Linked DNA regions of Homo sapiens: all the other regions are linked to region 1. Evidence: promoter capture Hi-C in human tissues and cell types (Jung and others, 2019). All regions are on one chromosome and are shown on one strand. The core of a region is centred on a gene start or on the middle of the fragment in contact, and the rest is flanking DNA. Distances in the headings are between cores, read along the strand shown. Region 1 holds the start of ZMYND12 (zinc finger MYND-type containing 12). Region 2 overlaps FOXJ3 (forkhead box J3). Region 3 has its middle 13 kb from the start of ERMAP. Region 4 has its middle 27 kb from the start of CLDN19.

The links. The method cuts DNA at HindIII sites, captures the fragments that hold promoters and counts their contacts. A contact is called where the count stands out against the background at its distance.
Region 2: a contact is called between a fragment that was not itself captured here and the fragment with the promoter of ZMYND12 in region 1, in 2 of the 25 tissues and cell types used here (hippocampus and thymus).
Region 3: a contact is called between a fragment that was not itself captured here and the fragment with the promoter of ZMYND12 in region 1, in 1 of the 25 tissues and cell types used here (pancreas).
Region 4: a fragment that was not itself captured here is called in contact with the fragment with the promoter of ZMYND12 in region 1 in 2 of the 25 tissues and cell types used here (neural progenitor cells and psoas muscle).

What each region holds. Positions count from the first base shown.
Region 1 is chr1:42,454,729-42,457,428 of GRCh38, reverse strand. It overlaps ZMYND12 (zinc finger MYND-type containing 12), which reads left to right and starts at 1,407. Exons shown (of 8, transcript NM_032257.5): 1 at 1,407-1,541. The coding sequence starts at 1,432. It overlaps PPCS (phosphopantothenoylcysteine synthetase), which reads right to left and starts at 886. Exons shown (of 3, transcript NM_024664.4): 1 at 356-886; 2 at 79-182. The coding sequence starts at 863. It also overlaps a transcript of CCDC30 not described here. RefSeq lists enhancers at 536-655, 746-815, 1,056-1,285. The HindIII fragment of the contact is 5,227 bases long and covers 1-2,700 here.
Region 2 is chr1:42,189,841-42,192,540 of GRCh38, reverse strand. FOXJ3 (forkhead box J3) reads left to right here. Exons shown (of 13, transcript NM_014947.5): 9 at 822-1,238. Among named protein-coding and RNA genes, the nearest start is that of GUCA2A, 26 kb to the right of the region's middle. The HindIII fragment of the contact is 3,563 bases long and covers 1-2,700 here.
Region 3 is chr1:42,802,646-42,805,345 of GRCh38, reverse strand. No RefSeq gene overlaps it. Among named protein-coding and RNA genes, the nearest start is that of ERMAP, 13 kb to the left of the region's middle. The HindIII fragment of the contact is 4,811 bases long and covers 1-2,700 here.
Region 4 is chr1:42,712,132-42,714,831 of GRCh38, reverse strand. No RefSeq gene overlaps it. Among named protein-coding and RNA genes, the nearest start is that of CLDN19, 27 kb to the left of the region's middle. The HindIII fragment of the contact is 4,114 bases long and covers 1-2,700 here.

The DNA.
Region 1 (2,700 bases), core at 158-2,657:
GCCATCTCCAGATCAAGAGGAAATTAACCCAAGATTGGTTATATGGGATTAGATCTCTGGAAGAGAAGCGCCCATCACCTGCAGTGGGCCCCCAGATGACTGGATCTTGTGTTCAGGCATTTCAGAGACAGGAACATAGAAATCTGACACAGCCGCAGCCAGGTAAAACATCGCAGAAGGGCCTGCAAAGAGAAACACAAGGTGTTAACAAATCGGCGAGGTACGATATAGGATCAGCTCCTTCTCAACTCGGGTTCCCCAGCTGAGATCCGTGGGTAAGCAGGAGGTAAGGGGATAAGTGGCTGGAAAGAAAGGCTGTGCTTCCAGGCAAAAGGGGTACTCCTAGGGCACGCACCTAGCGGATTGAGTGCCTGGGCCGCAGCCTGCAACAGATGCAAATAGTCCGCCAAAGTGGTGAACTCTACTGCCAGGAAGGTGCCTGCAGCCGCAGCCTCCTGGTAGCTCCTCAGAGCCTCAGCAAAACCCGGAAGTGCATTCTCCTCGGCCTCCAGGCTCAGCAAGCCCGAAAGGGCTGGGCCCGAAGGCCGCAGAGCGGACAGCCAAGTCTGGGGTGGGAAGCGGTGGGCATAGGGGAAGGCAGAGCGAGCGCGATACAAGAACAGGACCCCGTAGCCGGCGGCTAGGAAGGCCTCGGCCGAGGTTGCACCGCGCCGCCCGCTGCTGAAGTTGTCCAGGAAGCGCACCGGCCGCGCTTCCAGTGGGACCTTGGTGCCGCCTGACGTAACCAACACCACCCGCCGGCCCTGCGCGCCCAGCCTGGCCGCGAAGCGAGCCATAACCTCAGCCCAGCGCGCAGCACCGGGAGGCTGGGGGAACTCGGCTACCGGATCCATTTCCGCCATCTGCAGCGCAGCGGCCGGCGCCTGCGCACGTTTCGCGGCCGCCGCGCCACGCCCCTTCTCGCCTACCTGGTGTACGCGCCGCGCCGTACTGAGTGGGCGGTTCACTACCCTTCTTTTGACACTAGGTCCCGATCTCGCCAAGTCTGGAAATGCGTAGTTGTTCTGCCCCAGAGCCCAGCGAAAGTGACACTGCAACGAGGGGGATCCCCGGCTGGGTGGGCATCTGGTAGGGTCACGTTCCCTCACGTTCGTTTCCTAGCCTGGGTGAAGAACTGGCCATGTTTGACCCTTACCGGCCACTGTACGGGCCTTTCTGGACTTGGACTCCTTGGGAGTCGTTTCTCGGCCATTTGACCCGTGGGACTTGTGGGTTTTGTGCTGCTTTTTCTTTCTTTCTTCCCCTTTTCCAACTTCAGCAATACACCCAGATGTTAGTCGAGTCACGTCCCGCCGCCCTCTGCCCTTGAAATGCTGGCAAGTACGCAGCCCCGCGATCGTCACGTGACGCCGGGGTTCAGCGTATCCTTGCTGGGCAACCGTCTTAGAGACCAGCACTGCTGGCTGCACCATGAATGTGATCTACCCACTGGCAGTCCCCAAGGGGCGCAGACTCTGCTGTGAGGTGTGCGAAGCCCCAGCCGAGCGGGTGTGCGCGGCCTGCACAGTCACTTATTACTGGTAGGCCCTGAAACGTGGCACCTGGGCGCTATAACTCCCTCCCTCTCTCCCTTTCCCGGGTCTGGCTTGGGTACCTTGCGTTAGCCGTTGCCCCTGACTCTGCAAGGGACACCTCAAAACGGCTTTAAGACAGGCCCCTAAGACTCCCGTGGCCTCGTCTGTCTCATCTCCCACTTATTCGTCACTCATGTTTTCTGAAGGCGTACTCTGTGTTATGCACTATTTTAGGTGCTAAAGTTACTGGGGCAGCTCGGTAGATCAGTTCCTTCAAAGATCTAACATTCCAATGTGGGAGACAAATCAGTAAAGAAACAGGCCGGGCGCGGTGGCTCACGCCTGTAATCCCAGCACTTCGGGAGGCCGAGGCGGGCGGATCGCCTGAGGTCAGGAGTTCGAGACCAGCCTGGCCAACATGGTGAAACCCTGTCTCTACTAAAAAATACAAAAATTAGGCGGGAGTGGTGCTGGGCGCCTGTAATCCCAGCTACTCGGGAGGCTGAAGCAGAAGAATCGCTTGAACCCGGGAGGCGGAGCTCGCAGTGAGCGGAGATCGCGCCACTGCACTCCAGCTTGGGCAACGAGAGTGAGACGATAGTGAATGGGGCAGTATGTGGAAAGCTTTCCCTGTGGAAGAAACATTTGAGCTGCATTTTGAGAGGGCAGTCAGAACCTGCTGTGTACAGGAGTAGTGAAGAAGGGTAGGGCATTCCCGGCATCCGGGACTGCTAGGGCAAATGGCAAAAGAACAGAGTTTGCTAAGGGCCGAGTGGAGAACGTAGTAGTGGAGGGAGCAGTCAGTGATTTTCAAACTGCAGGCCAGGGCCCTTTAGCAGTTTATGAATAAGTCACAATCACCATTTAGAGAAAACAACAACAACAAAAAAGAGCACAGAATGAGTAGAAAGTATCAGGTTAATCCTACCTGAATTGTTTCTTAAAACTTTTGTCTTAGTGTTTTATGTGGACATGTGTGTGTGTACAGGAAAAATGTATTTCTTACTATAGGTTGAGTCAAAATTAGCCGGATGTGGTGGCGTGCACCTGTAATCCTAGCTACTCGGGAGGCTGAAGCAGGAGAATCGTTTGAACCCGGGAGGCGGAGGTTGCAGTGAGCCGAGATCGCTCCATTGCACTCCAGCTTGGGCAACAAGAGTGAAAC
Region 2 (2,700 bases), core at 80-2,579, 260 kb after region 1:
ATGTAGAAAGTAAAAAGTTCCTCTTCATAGTTTCCCTTCTTGTTAAAGAGTAAATCATAAGTGTTAGAAATAATAGTTTCTTTTAAAAACTAACTTCCTTTAAGCCTCCTTACTTTATGCTAATAACTTTTTGTTGGGCCCTATCCTGTGTAGCTGTTAAACATGCTCACAGGCACGTAGTACATTCTATGTCCTTGTACCTTAACTGAGATATTTGTGCTGGACGTGCTCACAGGCATGTTCCAGCTTGCAGCCTATGCCCCTTCCCTATTTGGCATAAACAACTTCCTCTTTTCCTTTGTCTTTCCATTACTTTTACCTATTTGGAAAAGTTTTAAACTATTAGCCAGTCGAGATTTAGTTTAGATTGTGCGGTCTTCTATCAAAGCCTTGGTCTTTATGCCTACAGAGAGCCATCCTGAGTGTGACCCCCACACCTTTCCCACTTTTCCCCGAACATTTCCTTATCTTTCAAGACTCAGTTCAGGCACTGTCTTTAAAAGAAAGGCTTCTCTATATTTTCAGCCTTCTCCTAGCTGAACAGACAAGGAGCAGTTTTCATAATCCTCTGTATACTTTAGCTTTAGTACTTAAATTGTTGGTCATAATCTTGTCTTTCTCTTCCACTTGAGGGTGGGGCATTATATTTCTTCTCAATAACCACAGAGCCTAGTGTGCAGTGGATGTTGGATTAACACTTATTAAATTGAACCAGTGTTGCTTCCTGGCATCATATGCTTTTGTTATGTTAATAATTTTACAAATGTTTGTCATAAAATACAACTGAAATCTGACCATAAATGATCTTGCTTTGTTTTTAGGTTTGATGAACATCCCTTCTGAATCTTCCCAGCAGTCCCACACTTCATGTACCTATCAGCACTCTCCCAGCAGTACAGTGAGCACTCACCCACACAGCAACCAAAGCAGCCTGTCCAACAGTCATGGCAGTGGCCTCAACACCACAGGCAGTAATTCGGTTGCACAGGTCTCACTGTCTCACCCCCAGATGCACACACAGCCATCTCCACATCCTCCCCATCGACCGCATGGTTTACCGCAGCATCCGCAGCGTTCCCCACACCCAGCACCACACCCACAGCAACACAGCCAGCTCCAGTCCCCTCACCCCCAGCATCCCTCTCCACATCAACACATACAGCACCATCCGAACCATCAGCATCAGACGTTAACACATCAGGCACCCCCACCCCCACAACAGGTATCCTGTAATTCTGGTAAGTTTTTGTCTCCTGGTTTGTGTTTGGCTAACTGTGAATTAGGATCTGTCCTTTGTTATTTAGAGCTCATGTAGTATTTACTACCAAAACCTCTTTACATCTGTTTCCTTGCTATAATCCTATAGTTGTAACTCATTTAATTCATAGACTGACCTGGCGACTTTCTTGATTAAAATTTATTGTGGCAACATAGGCAAACCCAGCAACCCTTGCAGGTTTTTATTTTAACTCTTGTTTATAATTTAGATACATTATCTTACATTATCCTGCCAAATCAAGTATAGATGACCACATTTTATATATAGGAAAAGTGCAACTAAAAGAATTTTAAGTAATTTGCTTAAGATCATACTGTGGTAAGTGGTAGAACTGGGGTTTATATTCTGACATGTCTGACTTCAAAGCTTATAACACCAGTTATTCTAAAAGAACTAAAATTAGCAGACATTTGCTAAGTGGGTAGGGTTTGCTCACCCAGTCGCTGCAGAGTTTGCTTTATTTTTATTTGCCAGGTCACTATTTATTAAAGGAGCCTCCTCTTCCTCTTACCCACAACAACAACAACAAATTAGTCATGGCAAATGTCCTGGTTCCTGCTCATAATTTCATTTCAGTTAACCTTTTTCCTACCCTGACCTTTTGACTACCTGAGTTGTGTTTACCTCAAGAGATCTGGATTCTAGTACTGCTTTGGCTGTTGTATTACCTAAGTGACTTAAATCATATAATTCCTTTGAACCTTGGTTTCCTTATCCATGAAGTTCTTCTTGAACTAAAGGATCTGAGTCTGGTAGACTTGCATGTTCGTGGCTCATTTGGATATTAGTTTAATCCCCTCCCACCTAACAAATTTCTTCCTAAGTTACGACTTGCTTCATGGCAGGGTCATGTTGTCTCTAGTTGATTGTTTATTTTAAAAATCCATTATTGGCAGAATTTTGTAATCAAGTAGCCAGTAGTTGATATAGCCAAGAGTTGCCTTGATGTAGCAAAAGCAAACCAACCAGCCCTTTTTATTGGTCTTTATCTTCATCCATCCGGGGGAGGTCCTAGAAACAGTGGCTTGACAGCAGTCACTGAAATGAAGAATTTTCTTCCACTATTCAGCACTGCTGTCTCATTGAAGGTAACTCTTGCTGCATGGCCTCTGACTAATGACTGGTTTGCTGACATACAGATTATGGAGTCTTAAACTCTTCTGATGTCATACCAGAGGATACCATTTCTGACTAAAAATGCCCTGACGTGGATTCATCAGCATTTCTTGCAGAGATCTCACCCTTCTTCCTTCGCTACCTTGGCAGGGGGACTATGTTAAATTTTTTTCTCCTAAGGTTGCCTTGGAAGAAGCATTTACTCTTACTATATGATCTAATCCACCTGCGTTAAGTCATTGCATTAAATTGTACTATGTGTTGCCTCTAAATGTGAACCTGCCTCTCTTGAGTTTTTTAAGGTC
Region 3 (2,700 bases), core at 13-2,512, 350 kb before region 1:
CTTCAGCCTTTTATTAGGAACCCACTCCCAAGATAACTAGCCTACTCCAGCAATAACAGACAGCATTAATCATTCATGATGGCAGAGCCCTCATAACCTAATCATCTCTTAAAGTTTCCACCTCTTAACACTGTTGCATTGGGGATTATTTCTAACACACGAACTTTGGGGGACATATTCAAACCATAGCACTCAGAAAATGTTACTTCCCTTCCCAGCCACCTTTCAGATTGTTTCATGGGAAATGTTTTCAGATTTCACATAACCAGGAAAGACATGATCATTGTCTGGAAAGATTCTTAGTTGGGAACTGCTTGTATTAACATCTCTCAGCCTTGGGTATATTCTTGTCGTGGAGAAACACTCTAGTAGGGCACAAGTGGTTGTAAAATCAGTTTAGTAAATTATGACCAGCTTTTCTTTTTAATGAAATAACAAATTAGAAAATACCACATGTGGGGCCGGGCGCAGTGGCTCACGCCTGTAATCCCAGCATGTTGGGAGGCCGAGGCGGGTGGATCACGAGGTCAGGAAATCAAGACCATTCTGGCTAACAGGGTGAAACCCGGTCTCTACTAAAAATACAAAAAAAAAAAATTAGGCGTGGTAGCGGGCGCCTGTAGTCCTAGCTACTCAGGAGTGTTGGGAACAAGCCCCCCAAAATCTGGCCATAAACTGGCCCCAAAACTGGCCACAAACAAAATCTCTGCAGCACTGTGACATGTTATGATGGTCACAACACCCACGCTGGAAGGTTGTGGATTTACTGGAATGAGGGCAAGGAACACCTGGCCCACCCAGGGTGGAAAACCACTTAAAGGCATTCTTAACCCACAAACAATAGCATGAGCGATCTGTGCCTTAAGGACATGCTCCTGCTGCAGTTAACTAGCCCAACCTATCCCTTTAATTTGGCCCATCCCTTCATTTCCCATAAGGGATACTTTTAGTTAATTTAATATCTATAGAAACAATGCTAATGACTGGCTTGCTGTTAATAAATACGTGGGTAAATCTCTGTTTGAGGCTGTCAGCTCTGAAGGCTGTGAGACCCCTGATTTCCCACTTAACACCTGTATATTTCTGTGTGTGTGTGTCTTTAATTCCTCTAGTGCCACTGGATTAGGGTCTACCCTACTGAGCTGGTCTCAGCACAGGAGGCTGAGGCAGGAGAATGGCGTGAACCCACGAGGTGGAGTTTGCAGTGAGTGGAGATCGCGCCACTGCACTCCAGCCTGGGCGACAGAGCGAGACTCAAAACAAAACAAAACAAAACAACAAACAAAAAAAACTGCCACATGTGGTAAGGATATTGTTTGGTGAAACTTTTGTTTTAGGCTTACATACACATGAATGTGTATACTGCATTGGATGTAAAAATTATTCCTTACTGTGGGTTGTGGTAAAAAAAAAAAAAAAAAAAAAATCGAGATACAAGAGGATGCCTGAACCAAGAGAGCAATGGGTCATCTTTGTATTCCCCCTTCCTGTTTTTTTTTTTTTTTTCCCCTTTGAGTCAGGGTCTTGCTCTGTCACCCAGGCTGGAGTGCAAGTGGTACAGTCATGGCTCACTGCAGCCTTGAACTCCTGGGCTCAAGCAATCCTCCTACCTCAGCCTCCCGAGTAGCTAGGACTACAGATGTGTTCCACCACACCCAGCTAGTTTTTTAAAATTTTTTTGTAAAGATGGGGAATCGCCACATTGCCTAGGCTGGTCTCAAACTCCTGGCCTCCCAAATGCTGGGATTACAGGCATGAGCCACCATACCTGGCCTTTTATTCACATTTTAGAAAGAAAAAGATTTATCTTCTACCTCTAAGAAATACCAGCGTAAGGGGTCCAGAGGCCATTGTGTCCATAATTGGAATAACATTGAATGCTAAGGGTCTTATAAGCATAGTCAAAGAAAACTAGGAACACATCATCTCTGCTTACCTGCCCAGAATTCCCTCATCCTGATGTGGTCCATCCCCAGTTTCTCAAAGGTACAGAGATATTTTTGAAGCTTTACATCTAAAACCAATAATGATAACACTGACTTTGGAAGTCAAGCTCTAAGATCCACTACTTGGTGATTGTGTGGGCAAGTGTTAATCTCCCTAAGTCAATACTTTTTTTTTTTTTTTGAGATGGAGTCTTGCTCTGTCACTCAGGCTAGAGTGCAGTGGTGCTATCTCAGCACTGCCTCCTGGGTTCAAGAAATTCTCCTGCCTCAGCCTCGCGAGCAGCTGGGATTACAGGCGCCCGCCACTACACCTGACTAATTTTTGTATTTTTAATAGATATAGGGTTTCACTATGTTGGTCAGGCTGGTCTCAAACTCCTGATCTCAAGTGATCCACCCACCTCAGCCTCCCAAAGTGCTGGAATTAACAGGCACGAGCCACCGTGCCCGGCCCCTAAGTCAATAATTCTTAAGTGTTTTGGTCTCAGGGGTTTTACATACTCTAAAAATTGTTGTATATATCATATTTGCTTTATTAGAAGTTAAAAGCTTAAAAAATATTTACTAATTCATTTAAAAGTGATAACCCATTATAGGATAACATAAATAATATTTTTGTGAAAAAATTTCAAAAATAATCATTTAGTGAGGAGTGGCATCATTTTACATTTTTGCAAATCTCTTTAATATCCAGCATAATGGAAAAAAGCTGAATTCTCATATCTGCTTCTGTATACTGTATTCTCATCTTGTT
Region 4 (2,700 bases), core at 116-2,615, 260 kb before region 1:
CTTGGGAGGCAGAGGAAGGAGAATCACTTGAACCTGAGAGGTGGTGGCTGTGTAAGCCAAGATTGCACCATTGCACTCTAGCCTGGGCAACAAGAGCAAAACTCTGTCTCAAAAAAAAAAAAAAAAAAAAAAGCACCAAACAAATTTTGGAACAGAAGAATTAACTGAATGCAATACAAAATACATTTGAAAGCTTTAACAATGGACTACTACATCAAACAGAAGAAAGAATCTCAGAACTTAAAAACAGGCCTTTTGAAATAATCAAGTCAGACAAAAAAAAAAAAAAAATGAATTAAAAAGAAGGCCAGGCACAGTGGCTCATGGCTGTAATCCCAGCACTTTGGGAGGCCAAGGCAGGAGGATTGCTTAAGCCCAGGAGGTCAAGGTCAGCCTGGGCAGTAAAGTGAGACCCTATCTCAATAAAAAGTTAGCTGGGCGTGGTAGCTCCAGCTACACAGGAGGATGAGGCAGGATAATCTCTTGAGCCCAGGAGATCAAGGCTGAAGTGAGCCATGTTAATGTTACTACACTCCAGCCTGGGCAAGAGTGAGACTCTGTCAAAATCGGTCAGTCAATGAGAAAAGCCTTCATGACATCTGTAATGACAAAAAGTGACAGAATATTTGAATTATCAGTGTCCCTGAGGGCAAACAGAGAATGAAAGGGTTAGAAAACCTATTTAATGAAATATTAGATGAAAACTATCCAAGTCTAGCAAGAGACCTAAACATCCAGATCCAGGTGACCCAAAGATCCCCAAACAGTACAAAAAGGTCTTGTACACAGTCAAAACTATCTAAAGCCAAAGCAAAAGAGAGTATACTAAAAACAGCAAGAGAAAAGCAGAGGCACCTACAAAAGAACCCTCATCAGACTAACAGCAGAGTTCTCAGCAGAAACCGTATAGGCCAGGAGAGAATGGGATGAAATATTCAAAGTGCTGAAAGAAAAAAAAATGCCATGCAATGATATTACATGAGCAAAATTATCCTTCACAAATGAAGGAGAAATAAAGTCTTTTCTAGAGAAGCAAATGCTGAGGGAATTTAACACCACTAGACCAGCTCTACATAAAATGCTCAAGGGAGTCCTAAACTTGCAAGAGAAAGGACAACATTTACCATCATTAAAGAGCACTAAAGTATAAAACTCATTGGTAAGTTAAACACACAAATGAGGAAGGACTCAAATGGTACCACTATAACATATCACTAAACCACAATAACAAACAATGAGGAAAAAAAGAAACAAATATACAAAGCAATCAGAAAACAATTAACAATGTGACAATAACAAAATATAACATAGCAATAATAACCTTGAATGTAAATGGGTTAAATTTTCCACTTAAAACACAGACTGGCTGAATGAATAAAGAAACATGATCCAACTATATGCTGCCTACAAGAAACCCACTTTACCTGCAAAGACACATATAGACTCAAAGTAAAGGGACAGAAAAAACACTCCACACAACTAGAAACCAAAAGCAAGCAGGAGCTTTGATACAAGCTATACCTGTATTAAATAAAACAGATATTAAGTCAAAACAGTAAAAAGAGACAAAGAAGGTAACTATATAATGACAAAGGGATCAATCCAGCAAGAGGATATAAAAATTCTAAATATGTATGCACCCAAAACTGGGGCACTGAGACTCAAAAAGTAAATATTGCTAGATCTAAAGAGAGACTTCAATACAATAAAAGCTGGGACTTCAAAACTCCACACTCAGCTTAGACAGATCATCTCAGGAGAAAATCAATAAAGAAATACTGAATTTAAACTGGACCTTAGAGCAAATAAACCTCAGGAGAAAATCAATAAAGAAATGTTGAAGGCTGGGAGCAGTGGCTCACGCCTGTAATCCCAGCACTTTGGGAAGCTGAGGCAGGTGGATCACCTGAGGTCGGGAGTTCAAGACCAGCCTGACCAACATGGAGAAACCCCATCTCTACTAAAAATACAGAATTAGCTGGGCATGGTGGCGCATGCCTATAACCCCAGCTGCTCAGGAGGCTGAGGCAGGAGAATCACTTGAACCCAGGAGGTGGAGGTTACAGTGAGCCACAATCACGCCATTGCACTCCAGCCTGGGCAACAAGAGTGAAACTCTGTCTCAAAAAAAAAAAAAAAAAAAAAAAGAAAGAAAGAAATATTGAATTTAAACTGGACTCTAGAGCAAATAAACCGAAGAGACATTTACAGAGCATTTTAACTACAGAATAGACATTCTTCTCATCAGCACATGGAACATTCTGTAGGACAGACCATATGTTAAACCACAAAACAAATCTCAACAAATTTTAAAAAAACAGAAGTCATATCAAATATCTTCTCAGACAACAATGGAATAAAACTATCAATCAACACCAAGAAGAACTTGAGAAACTTTATGAATACATGGAAATCAAACAACATGCTTTTGAACTACCAATTGGGTCAATGAAGAAATTAGATGGAAACAAAATTTCTTGAAAGAAATGAAAACAGAAACACAACACACCAAAACCTGTTTGATACAACAAAAGCACTACTAAGAGGGAAATTAATAGCAACAAATGCCTACATCAAAAAAGTAGAAAGATTTCAAGTGAACAATCTAATGATGCACCCCAAGAAAGTGAAAGAGCAAGAACAAACCAAACCCCAAATGAGCAGAAGCAGTAAAGATCAGAGAACTAAATGAAATAAAGA